2 separate regions of the Homo sapiens genome follow, and region 1 is linked to region 2. Evidence: promoter capture Hi-C in human tissues and cell types (Jung and others, 2019). All regions are on one chromosome and are shown on one strand. The core of a region is centred on a gene start or on the middle of the fragment in contact, and the rest is flanking DNA. Distances in the headings are between cores, read along the strand shown. Region 1 holds the start of MIEN1 (migration and invasion enhancer 1). Region 2 has its middle 4.5 kb from the start of CDK12.

Region 1 (6,745 bases), core at 1,865-4,364, 270 kb before region 2:
CCCCTGTCTCAAAAAAAGAAAGAAAGAAAGAAAAAAGAAAAAAAACTAGCCGAAGACTGGGAGAAAATAGTTGCAAATCATATACAACTATATATGGTTGTATATATGGTTGTATATATTTTGGTTGGTATCCAAAATATATAAAGAACTTTTACAAATCAATAATAAAGAGACAAATAAAAATGGGCAAAAGACTTGAATAGATGTTTCTTCAAATAATATGTATATGAATGGCTAATAACTACATGAAAAGATACACGACATAGTCATTAGATAAATGAGAATTAAAACCACAGTTACATACCATGTCATGTCCACTAGGATGGTTATAATCAAAGAGACAGAAAACAAGTATTGGTGAGGATATGGAGAGACAAATCCTCATATATTGCTGGTGGGAAAACTTTGAAAAACAGTCTGGCCATTTCTTAAAATGTTAAATGCTAGCCTGGGCAAAATGGCAAAACCTTGTCTCTACAAAAAATACAAAAAAAAATTAGCTGGGCATGGTGGTGCGTGTCTGTCGTCCCAGCTATTCAGGAGGCTGAGGCAAGAGGATAGCTTGAGTTTAGCAGGTCGAGGCTGCAGTGAGCCATGTTTGCACTGCTGCATTCCAGCGTGGGCAACAGAGCGAGACCCTGTCTCAAAAAAAAAAAAGATAATCATAAATTAAACACAGGACCCAGCAGTTCTACCCTTAGGAATCTACCCAAGAGAAATGAAAACACACACCTATACAAAGACACCTAAACATTTGTAGCAGCATTATTCAAAAAAGACAAAAAAAACTGGAACCCTAAATATCCATCAGCTGGTGAATTAAGAAAAAAATGTGGCATAACCACACAGTGGAATACGACTCAGCAATGAAAAGGAACAAACTACTCTAGACGCTACAGGATGAACGCATTTCAAAAAACATATTGAATGAAAGAACCAGAAGCAAAAGGCCACATAGTGTATTATTCTGTTTATATGAAACATCCAGAAAAGGCAAAGTTAGAGACAGAAAGCAGATCAGTGGTTGCACAGGACTGGAATTGGGAGCTGGATTGACCAGAAACAGGTGGGAAGGACTTATCAGGTTGACGGAAACATTCTGTAACTGGATTGTAGTGATGGTTAGGCAACAGTACAAATCACTGCATTTTCTTTCTTTTCTTTTCTTTTCTTTTTTTTTTGGAACACAGTCTCACTCTGTCACCCAGGCTGGAGTGCAGTGGTGAGATCTCAGCTCACTGCAACCTCCACCTCCCAGGTTCAAGCGATTCTCCTGCCTCAGCCTCTGGAGTAGCTGGTGCGCCACCACACCCAGCTAATTTTTGTATTTTTAGTAGAGACAGGGTTTTGTCGAGTTGGCCAGGCTGGTCTTGAACTCCTGGCGTCAAGTGATCCGCCCACCTTGGCCTCCCAAAACGCTGGGATTACAGGTGTGAGCCACTACGACCTGCCTGGTTTAAAAAAAAAAAAAATGAGCCCGGGTGCAGTGGTTCACACCTGTAATCCCAGCACTTTGGGAGGCCAAGATGGGCAGATCACAACTTCAGGAGTTCGAGACCAGCCTGGCCAACATGGTGAAACCCCATCTGTACTAAAAATAGAAAAATTAGCTGGCTTGGTGGTGGGCACCTGTAATCCCAGCTGCTCAGGAGGCTGAGACAGGAGACTCACTTGAGGCCGGAAGGCAGAGGTTGCAGTAAGCCGAGATCGCACCATTGCACTCCAGCCTGGCCAACAGAGCAAGACTCTGTCTCAAAAAAATAATAATAATAGTAATACAAAAGTTAGCTGGGCGTGGTGGCTGGCACCTATGATCTCAGCTACTAGGGAGACTGAGGCAGGAGAATCGCCTGAACCCAGGAGGTGGAGGTTGCAGTGAGCCAAGATCGCGCCACTGCACTCAAGCTTGGGTGACAGAGTGAGACTCCATCTCAAAATAAATAAATAAATAAATAAATAGCCTAAAGGGACACTAGAGTGGGTGGCGTGTTAGGATACCATAGTGGTACTGTAGGCAGGGAAAAGGCAGCGAGGACTTGTGCAGACTCCATTTCCAGAGCTGCAAAATGGGAATAATGACGCCAGCCCCCCAGTGAGAGGCTGGATGAGAAGGGATGCGCAGAAACTGTTGGGGGCACAGAGCCTGAAGAGCATCTACTGTTTTCCAGTGCAGGCAAGAAGCAGCTGCAAAAGACTGGAAAAAGCAGTTTAGAGCTTTGGGATCAGAAACACTTGTGTATGTAACTACAGGGTGGTTCCAAATGCCATCAGCACCGGGCGTGGTGGCTCACGCCTGTAATCCCAGCACTTTGGGAGGCCAAGGCAGGCAGATCATTTGAGGTCAGGAGTTCGAGACCAGTCTGGCGAACATGGTGAAACCCTGTCTCTACTAAAACAAACAAACAAACAAACAAAAAACTGGGCCAGGCGCGGTGGCTCATGTCTGTAATTCCAGCACTTTAGGAGGCCGAGGCTGGTGGATCACCTGAGGTCAAGAGTTCGAGACCAGCCTGACCAACATGATGAAACCCTGTCTCTACTAAGAATACAAAATTAACCGGGTGCGGTGGCACGCGCCTGTAGTCCCAGCTACTCGGGAAGCTGAGGCAGAAGAATCGCTTGAACCCGGGAGGCAGAGGTTGCAGTGAACCGAGATCGCGCCATTGCACTCCAGCCTGGGCAACAAGAGCGAAACTCCGTCTCAAAAAAAAAAAAAAAAAAAATGCCATCGGCATGTTAGCGAGAAAATGTCAACTATTTCATGCATCAGCCACACCCACCCCCATCCCCAGGATGCTTGCCCCACCACTTTCTCTTTCTTTTGTAAACTGAAAAGCGCTTTGCAGTCTAAGATAGTCCATTAGAGTAAATGAAGCCATGAAGTCCAGCGGACACCGGGAGTGGGGAGTGGGGAAGCCCGGCACTCCGGGAGACCGGGCCAGGGAAGGAGGGTCTGGACCGGACCCAGCCCCTGCCCGGGGAGCGAGCTCCGGAGCTGCCCTACGAGGTCAAAACGTAGCAGTGGCGGAGACCCGCAGGGGGCGCCCGAACGCCACCCTCGGCCCCTCCCCGCTCCAGAGGCCCCGCCCCGTCACGTGCCCGCGGTTCGCGTCACACCCGGAAGCAGGGGCCCGAGCGGAGCCGGCCGCGATGAGCGGGGAGCCGGGGCAGACGTCCGTAGCGCCCCCTCCCGAGGAGGTCGAGCCGGGCAGTGGGGTCCGCATCGTGGTGGAGTACTGGTGAGCGGCCCCGGCTGGAGGACCCGCACCCTGGTCCCGCGGGCCGGACGGAGGTGGGTCCACGGGAGGCCCCACCCCCGAATCCCCAGCCCAGCCCCATCTCTTGACTCCCCAGTGAACCCTGCGGCTTCGAGGCGACCTACCTGGAGCTGGCCAGTGCTGTGAAGGAGCAGTATCCGGGCATCGAGATCGAGTCGCGCCTCGGGGGCACAGGTGAGGCTCGCAGAACACCTGCTGGGTCAGTCTGTGCTCTGAATCCCAGCTCTCCCGCTTTCTAGTTCTGACATTGGCTGCTTTATGTAAAGTGCCCGCAGTGCCTGGCACATGGTAAAATGTCCGGCCAACATGAGTTCCCTTCCATAGGTCAGGGGGTGTCACAGAGGCCTGTGGGGAAAAACCTATTAGACTGCAATCGTGTAGGGTTGGAGGGGAGGGAGTCCTTTATTGAGTGTTGCGAGGGGCACACAGGCGAGGCCTCCCTCAGGTTCCCTGGAGTTGACCCAGGGTTGGGGAATTGCTTAAGGAGCTACAAATGGGTCTCCAGTGGGATTGATGGGGGACTTGAAGGCGGGGGACCCCTTTGGAGGAACTCCTGACTTCTGCCTATGTTCTCAGTGTACCATTTATCTGTTGATTTCTTACCAGGTGCCTTTGAGATAGAGATAAATGGACAGCTGGTGTTCTCCAAGCTGGAGAATGGGGGCTTTCCCTATGAGAAAGATGTGAGTATTTACAGCGTTGGGAGGACCTCTTGGTCACCCTACCCCAACAGTGCATCATCCTGTCATTCCACTCCTCTAGCTCATTGAGGCCATCCGAAGAGCCAGTAATGGAGAAACCCTAGAAAAGATCACCAACAGCCGTCCTCCCTGCGTCATCCTGTGACTGCACAGGACTCTGGGTTCCTGCTCTGTTCTGGGGTCCAAACCTTGGTCTCCCTTTGGTCCTGCTGGGAGCTCCCCCTGCCTCTTTCCCCTACTTAGCTCCTTAGCAAAGAGACCCTGGCCTCCACTTTGCCCTTTGGGTACAAAGAAGGAATAGAAGATTCCGTGGCCTTGGGGGCAGGAGAGAGACACTCTCCATGAACACTTCTCCAGCCACCTCATACCCCCTTCCCAGGGTAAGTGCCCACGAAAGCCCAGTCCACTCTTCGCCTCGGTAATACCTGTCTGATGCCACAGATTTTATTTATTCTCCCCTAACCCAGGGCAATGTCAGCTATTGGCAGTAAAGTGGCGCTACAAACACTAATGCTAACTAGTGTGTGTTTTTATACGTCCAGTCTGGGAATGTGGGGGGCACAGAAGTCCGGTCAGCCCAGCCTTTGCACCGCCAGGGTGGCTGTGCTGGCTGGGTGGGCTTTCTGGACAGCTACTCCTTAGGTCAGTGAGCTCCTCTGGCATAGCCAAGGCAAGGAAAATGAGTCCCACAGTAGACCCTGCCTCGTCTTTCCCCCACCCTACCCACCACTCTCCTCACTCACAAGGAGGAAATAACCCCATTCTGGTGAGTGGCCTTAGGAATTAGTTCGTTCTAAATAAGAATGATCTGGTCGTCAAAGGGCTCTCAGATCTGAATCCAGCTTCCCGATCTCCCCCAACCCTGAAGCTGGAGAACTGGATGTCTGGCTCCTCATCCAAGCTTTCTGAAGATTCCCAGCCACTCCCTCCAGGAAAAGAGGAATTGAGTGTAAGGTGAGCAGGAAGGGATGGCACAGAGCCACCCCCAGACATAGGCCGGTGCCTAGCTGTTTTCCAAAATATATTTGCAAATGGACAAAGTGGGTGTGGAGAAGGACCCCCCACACTTGCCTCCCCATACAACACCCATTCTCCCCCTGGGTCTTTATTTCATCTTTAAAAAAACAAAACAAAAAAAGTAAAAACTAAACAGAAAAGCACTCTGTACAAAGCCTGGATACTGACACCATTGCTGTTCCTTCCTCATGGGGGGCAGTACTAGGTTTCAGGGACAGTCTCTGAATGGGTCGCTTTTGTTCTTAGACACTCCCTTAGGGCCGCTTCCCCTCTCAGGCCAGCTTCCCTAAGGCTTTCAGTACCCAGGATCTGGAAGGAAAGGGCCAAGCTGGGCTGTGGCATCCACTGGACCCTAGAGTCTCATTGGGCAGGGCCTCAGAATCCACAAAGACTCCCCAGTGCTGTTCCTCTTCCAACGAGGCTGGACCCCTTCCAGCCATCTGGGAACTCAAGCAGGAAGGAAGGTTCCTTAGGACAGGTTCCTGGCATGGCAGGTTCCCCTGGAAGTGGTCGGAGGGCCCTCCCACCTCTTGATGCCAGCAGAAGTCAGGCCTTCCCTGCTCCCTGAGGACACATCAGGGCTTCTGCGGACTTGGCCTTCTGGTTCACACTGGCACGTCCAGACCCAGGTACTCTGGGTTCTCTGCCGTAGGTGTCCCTTTGAAGGTGCTGGGTGGAGCCCCCCGCTCTGGTGGGTCCTGGTCCCAGTAATAGAGGTTGTCGAAGGCTGGGCTGAAGGCAGGAGGAGGGTGGGGCTGAGGGGCAGCTCCTCCCTGGGGTGTCAAGTACTCGGGGTTCTCCACGGCACCCCCAAAGGCAAAAACGTCTTTGACGACCCCATTCTTCCCTGGGGAGAGAGTCTTGGGCCTTTCCAGAGTGGCACCAGCAGGTCGGGCAGCAGGCAGAGGGCCCTCTCGGGGCGAAGGGGGCTGGGGCCGAACATCTGGCTGGTTCACATATTCTGAAAGGTCAAGAGAAGGTGACCCATTAGGGGAAGGAACCCCGGTGTCTCTGCCACTCCCTCTGCCCCCACAGTGGACCCTGGGCTGAAGGTCCCACCTCCCCTGCCCATCAGTCTCTCTGCTTAGACTGGACTCCATACCAGGCTGGGGGCTGCAGGTCAGGGGGGCAACGTAGCCATCAGTCTCAGAGGGCAGGGGTACTGTGGGGTCCTCACTGTACCGCTGTAGAGGGCTGGGGTCATGTGTGGGGAGGCTTTGCAGCCCCTTGGCTGCCCCCATTCCCAGGTCACCATCAAATACATCGGAGCCAGCCCCTTCGGAGGGTGCCAGTGGAGACCTGGGGGCCTCCTCTTCAGAGGGCTCCAGCCCTAGTGTCAGGTCCCCACCGCCACTCTGGGGACAAGAAAGAAAGTCATGATGGGGGTCACTCACGGATCTGGGATGGGGACTCCATGGAAGGTGACAGGGTCACAGGAGAAAAACAGAGGTCACCTTTGGGGTATGACACAGTCACCGTGGAGAGAATGGGGTCACAGGGGTTGGAAGGCAGTAAGAATTTTTTGTAGGGATAATGGGGTTTCCTTGAGAGGTGACAGTTGAGGGAACATCAGAGAAAGGGACCCTAGTCCACCGGGGTTGGGGGAGGTAAGCAGACAGCCACACAGTGTGACCGAGGGCACTGACCCTGGTAGATGAGCTGCGGTGCCTGTGGTGGACCATGCCCCCAGCGCCCGGGGCAGGGTCTGGACAGAAGAAGCCCTGCTGGGGTACCAGATACTCCTCAGCA
Region 2 (6,357 bases), core at 3,313-5,812:
CATCCCATCTTGAGATCCTCCCATGGCCGTTATTGGATAATTTAGCCTTTCATCCTCATACAAAAGATTATAATATGAACAAGAAAAGCATAGTATTAATTAACAAGAAAATAACACTATCTTACACTGGCCCCTCATTTATTACTTTTTAAAAAACTTTCGCCTACCTTAAGTCATTCCATCTTCACAACAGTCCTCTGAAATAGGTTGTATAAGTGAGAAAACTAAGGCATGGAGAAATGAAGGGGCTTGTCCAAAACGGAGAAGTTCAGCTGGTAAATTCAGGACCAGAAAACATTCTGAATTAAGGTAGTCTCAATTCTCAAAAATCACTCTCTGTAAATGTTCTTGTTCCTTTTGCTCACAGGGCGATCCAAAACATTTTTTTTTTTTAACCTAATTTTGTGTGTGTGTGTGAAGGGTCTCGCTCTGTCGCCCAGGCTGGAGTGCAGTGGCACAATCATAACTCACTGTAGCCTTCCCCTCATGGGCTCAGGTGATCCTCCCATCTCAGCCTCCTGAGTAGCTGAGACTACAGCCACAGGCCACCAGCCCAGCTAATTTTTATTTTTATTTTTTTGTAGAGATGGAGGGCTGGCTATGTTGCCGAGTCTGACCTCAGATGCCTGGGCTCAAGCATTCCATCCACTTTGGCCCCCAAAGTGTTAGGATTACAGGCGTGAGCCACCACGCCCGCCGTCTCTAAATGATTGAGTCCATAAATATTGGTTCTAAAATAAAAAGATCAGGCCAGGCACAGTGGCTCACTCCTGTAATCCCAGCACTTTGGGAGGCCAAGGTGGGCAGATCACAAGGTCAAGAGATGGAGACGATCCTGGCCAACATGGGGAAACCCCGTCTCTACTAAAAACACAAAAATTAGCTGGGCTTGGTGGCACACACCTGCAGTCCCAGCTACTCGTGAGGCTGAGGCAGAGGTTGAACCCTGGAGGCAGAGGTTGCAGCGAGCCGAGATCGCGCCACTGCACTCCAGCCTGGCAACAGAGCAAGACTCCGTCTCAAAATAAATAAGTAAATAATAAAAAAATTTAAAAAATAAAAAGACCAAGTTTTCCACGACAACTTTTTGATCTTCTATGGAAGTAAAATTAATGCTATCAAGAAAAAAGAAGTGGCTGGGAGCAGTGGCTCATGCCTGTAATCCCAGCACTTTGGGAGGCCAAGAGGGGAGGATCATTTGAGGTCAGGAGTAAGACCAGCCTGGCCAATGCAGTGAAACCCTGTTTCTACTAAAAATACAAAAATAGGCCGGGCGCAGTGGCTCACTCCTGTAACCCCAGCACTTTGGGAGCCGAGGCGGGCAGATCAGGAGGTCAGGAGATCGAGACCATCCTGGCTAACACGGTGAAACCCCGTCTCTACTAAAAATACAAAAAAATTAGCTGGGCGTGGTGGCGGGTGCCTGTAGTCGCAGCTACTCAGGAGGCTGAAGCAGGAGAATGGTGTGAACCCGGGAGGCAGAGATTGCAGTGAGGGGAGATCACGCTACTGGGAGGCAGAGATTGCAGTGAGGGGAGATCACGCTACTGCACTCCAGCCTGGGCAACAGAGCAAGACTCTGCCTCAAAAAAAAAAAAAATTAGAGGCCAAGCACTGTGGCTCATGCCTGTAATCCCAGCACTTTGGGAGGCCGAAGTGGGAGGACCACTTGAGGTCAGCAGTTCAAGACCAGCCTGGCCAACACAGTGAAATCCTATCTCTACTAAAAATACAAAAATTAGTCAGGCGTGGTGGTGATCGCCTGTAATCACAGATATTCAGGAGGTTGAGACAGGAGAATCGCTTGAACCCAGAACGCAGAAGTTGCAGTGAGCCAAGATCGTGCCACTGCGCTCCAGCCTGGGTGACAGAGCAAGACTCTGTTTCAAAAACAAACAAACAAACAACAAAAAAATATATATATATTTATATATACACACACACAAAAATTAGCCAGGCATGGTGGCATATGCCTGTAATTCCAGCTACTCAGGAGGCTGAGGCATGAGAATCACTAGAACCTGGGAGGCAGAGGTTGCAGTGAGCTAAGATTGCACCACTGCATTCCAACCTGGGCAACAGAGTGAGAATCCATCTAAAAAAAAAAAAAAGTGGCTAACAAAAAGAAAAAAGGGCTGAGTGTGGTGGCTGACATCTGTAAAACCAACAATTTGGAAGGCCAACATGGAAGGAATTCGTGAGCCCAGAAATTGGAGACCAGCCTGGGCAACATGTTGAGACATCTGTCTCTACAAAAAAATACAAGAAATGACAGGCCGAGCAAGGTGGCTCATGCCTGTAATCCCAGCAATTTGGGAGGCCGAGGCAGGCAAATTGCCTGAGTTCAGGAGTTTGAGACCAGCCTGGGCAACACGGTAAAACCCCATCTCTACTAAAATACAAAAGAAATTAGCCGCCGGGCTTGGTGGCTCACGCCTGTAATCCCAGCACTTTGGGAGGCTGAGGCGGGCGGATCACCTGAGGTCGGGAGTTCGAGACCAGCCCGACCAACATGGAGAAACCCCGTCTCTATTAAAAATACTAAAAAATTAGCTGGGCATGGTGGCCCATGCTTGTAATCCCAGCTACTCGGGAGGCTGAGGCAGGAGAATCGCTTGAACGCAGGAGGCGGAGGTTGCAGTGAGCCGAGATTGGGCCATCGCACTCCAGCCTGTGCAACAAAAGAGAAACTCTGTCTCAAAAAAAAAAAAAAAAATTAGCCAGGCGTAGTGGTGTGGGCCTGTATTCTCAGCTATTCGGGAGGCTGAGGCAGGAGAATTGCTTGAACCCAGGAGGCAGAGCTTGCAGTGAGCCAAGATCACGCCACTGCACTCCAGCCTGGGCGACAGAGCGAGACTCCGTCCCTACCAAAAACAAACAAACAAAAACAAGAAATTAACCAGGCATGGTGTTGCTTGCCTATAGTCCCAGCTACTATGAGGCTGAGATGGGAGGATCACTTGAGCCCAGGAGGTCAAGGCTGCAATGAGCCATGATCATGCCACTGCACTCCAGCCTGGGTAACAGAACAAGAACCTGCCTCAAAAAAGAAAAGAAAAAAGAAAAACACGGGCCAGGCATGGAGGCTCACGCCTGTAATCCCAGTACTTTGGGAGGCCGAGGCAAGCAGATCACCTGAGGTCAGGAGTTCAAGACCAGCCTGACCAACAAGAAGAAACCCCGTCTCTACTAAAAATACAAAAATTAGCCCAGCGTGGTGGCACATGCCTGTAATCTCAGCTACTAGGGAGGCTGAGGCAGGAGAATTGCTTGAACCCGGGAGGTGGAGGTTGCGGTGAGATGAGATGGTGCCATTGCACTCAGCCTGGGCAACAAGAGTGAAACTGTCTCCAAAAAAAAAAAAAAAAAAGAAAAGAAAAGAAAAACACAAGTACTGGAACTCAGTTGTGAACACTCCTTATTCACCGCTATAGGAGGATAGGACACCCTGGATATATTTTCTTGAGACAAGGTCTTGCTGTGCTGCCCAGGCTGGAGTACAGTGTTGCCAGGACAACCTGGATTTATTTTCTTGAGACAAGGTCTTGCTCTGTTGCCCAGGCTGGAGTACAGTGGTATGACCATGACACACTGCAGTCTTTTTTTTTTTTTTTTTGAGATGAAGTCTCGCTCTTGTCCCCCAGGCTGGAGTGCAATGGCACGATCTCGGCTCAGTGCAAGCTCCACCTCCTGGGTTCAAGTGATTCTCCTGCCTCAGCCTCCTGAGTAGCTGGGATTACAGGCGCCTGCCACCATGCCCGGCTCATTTTTGTATTTTTAGTAGAGATGGGGTTTCGCCATGTGGCTAGGCTGGTCTCGAACTCCTGACCTCAGGTGATCCACCCACCTTGGCCTCCCAAAGGGCTGGGATTACAGGTGTGAACCACTGTGTCCGGCTGACACACTGCCATCTTCACTTCCTGAGCTCAAGCAATCCTCCAGCCTCAGCCTCTCCTGGCTGGGATTACAGGTGTAAGCCACAGAGCCTGGCTAATTTTTTTTTTATTTTTTGTAAAGACGGGGTCTTGCTATGTTGCCCAGGCTGCTCTTGAAGTCCTCGGCTCAAGGGATCCTCCCACCTGGACTCCCAAGATGCTCGGAATACAGGCATGGGCCACTGTGTCTGGCCTTGAATGTTTTACATGATGACAGATGGCATGAGACTTCCTGGGCTGATTAAATGTAGTGACCAGTCAGCCATAGTAAGTGTTGGCATGGGTTTGTTGTCATGAGTTCAATAAAATTCACCCTGATTTTTCTGTCTTTTAAATGAGATCAGGTTTTTATTTTTAATTTCTTTTTTTGAGATGGAGTCTTGCTCCGTTGCCAGGCTGGAGTGCGGTGGCACTATCTTGGCTCACTGCAACCTCTGCCTCTCTGATTCAAGCGATCCTCCTGCCTCAGCCTTCTTAGTAGCTGGGATTACAGGCACACGCCACCATGCCTGGCTAATTTTTGTATGTTTAGTAGAGACGGGGTTTCACCATGTTGATCAGGCTGGTCTTGAACTCCTGACCTCATGATCCACCCGCCTTGGCCTCCCAAAGGGCTGGGATTACAGGTGTGAGCCACCATGCCTGGCCTTTTTTTTGGGATGGAGTCTCCCTCTGTTGCCTAGGCTGGAGTGCAATGGCTTCATCTCGGCTCACTGCAACCTCCGCCTCCCAGGTTCAAGCAATTCTCTGCCTCAGCCTTCTCAGTAGCTGGGATTACAGGCGCCTGCCACCATGTTCAGATGATTTTTTTTTAATTTTTAATAGAGACGTGGTTTCACCATCTTGGCCAGGCTGGTCTTGAACTCCTGACCTTGTGATCACCCCCCGCCTTGGCCTCACAAAGTGCTGGGATTACAGGTGCAAGCCACTGTGCCTGGCTGAGATCAAGTTTTTAATTCACGATGTACCCACAGTAGAATGGAAAAGTGAAGACGACAGAAGGCATCGGTGATGTGTCAAAATCTGGAAGAATTAAATTGATTATCCAGATTAAACACCAGCAGAAACTTTTTTTCTTTTTTTGAGACGGAGTCTCACTCTGTCACCTAGGTTGGAGTGCAGTGGTGCGATCTCGTCTCGCTGCAAGCTTCGCCTCGATCTCGGCTCACTGCAAGCTCCGCCTCCCGGATTCACACCATTCTCCTATCTCAGCCTCCCAAATGGCTGGGATTACGGGTGCCTGCCACCATGCCCGGCTAATTTTTTGTATTTGTAGTAGAGACCGGGTTTCACTGTGTTGGCCAGGATGGTCTTGATCTCCTGACCTCGTGATCTGCTCGCCCCGGCCTCCCAAAGTGTTTGTATTACAGGCGTGAGCCACTGCACCTGGCTGAACCTTTCAAAATTATCTGTTACTGCCTCTTGAAGCCAATTAGAGACCAGTAACTAATGAAAGAATGAAGCTTTATCCCTGAAACTTTGAACTTATAATATCTTGAATTTCTATAGCACTTTAAAATTTTTCACGGAACTCTTTTAATCCCGTCAATAAATTTCAATTGAATAAATAAACTAATGAAATTATGTTATTTTTATTACTATTTTTATTTTTTTTTTTGAGACTAAGTCTCCCTCTGTCGCCCAGGCTGGAGTGCAGTGGCACGATTACAGGCATGAGCCACCACACCGCACCAGGCCTATTATTATTATTATGCTTATTGAGAACAGTTTCAATCTGTGGCCTAGGCTGGAGTGCACTGGCAGGATCTTGGCTCACTGCAACCTCCACCTCCCAGGTTCAAGCAATTCTCCTGCCTCAGCCTCCCAAATAGCTGGGATTACAGGCATGCGCCACCATGCCCGGCTAATTTTTTTGTATTATTTTGTATTTTGTATTATTAGTAGAGACAGACTTTGGCCATGTTGGCTAGGCTGTTCTCGAACTCCTGACCTTAAGTGATCCACCCACCTCAGCCTCCCAAAGGGCTGGGATTATAGGCGTGAGCCACTTATTATCGACATCTAATATAGGTTAAACTGACACTGAGAAGGAGTTAGATTGGACCATGTTGACACTTAAGTGTAGAAAGTGCCTGGAGCCGGGACACCTCACTTCTACATACTAAACCAGTACTTTGTATTGAACTACCCTTCCTTCCTCCCTCCCTCCCTTCCTTCCTTCTTTTCCTTTCTTTCTCTCTCTCTCTTTCTTTTAGATAATCTCCCTAACATGGTATTCCTCTTTTTGGTGAATAAAATTCTGCAGCAGAAAATCTCAGGCTGTATCTAAATTTTAAAATACAATATCTACTGTAAACTGCAGGTATTGATCCAATCTGTGCTTTTGTAAAATAAGGGTTGCTTCATTATACAGAAAAACTTTGAACTCAGAAATTCCAGGACTGCTCCATTTGCTTTATTT

What was found. The method cuts DNA at HindIII sites, captures the fragments that hold promoters and counts their contacts. A contact is called where the count stands out against the background at its distance.
Region 1: the fragment with the promoter of MIEN1 here is called in contact with a fragment that was not itself captured in region 2 in 2 of the 25 tissues and cell types used here (aorta and liver).

Annotation. Positions count from the first base shown.
Region 1 is chr17:39,726,901-39,733,645 of GRCh38, reverse strand. MIEN1 (migration and invasion enhancer 1) reads left to right here and starts at 3,114. Exons shown (of 4, transcript NM_032339.5): 1 at 3,114-3,239; 2 at 3,355-3,452; 3 at 3,885-3,961; 4 at 4,041-5,136. The coding sequence starts at 3,151. The coding sequence ends at 4,124. It overlaps ERBB2 (erb-b2 receptor tyrosine kinase 2), which reads right to left. Exons shown (of 27, transcript NM_004448.4): 25 at 6,643-6,745; 26 at 6,099-6,351; 27 at 4,988-5,957. The coding sequence ends at 5,602. RefSeq lists a silencer at 2,873-3,432 and an enhancer at 6,371-6,745. The HindIII fragment of the contact is 5,525 bases long and covers 1-3,393 here.
Region 2 is chr17:39,453,817-39,460,173 of GRCh38, reverse strand. No RefSeq gene overlaps it. Among named protein-coding and RNA genes, the nearest start is that of CDK12, 4.5 kb to the left of the region's middle. The HindIII fragment of the contact is 5,170 bases long and covers 1,978-6,357 here.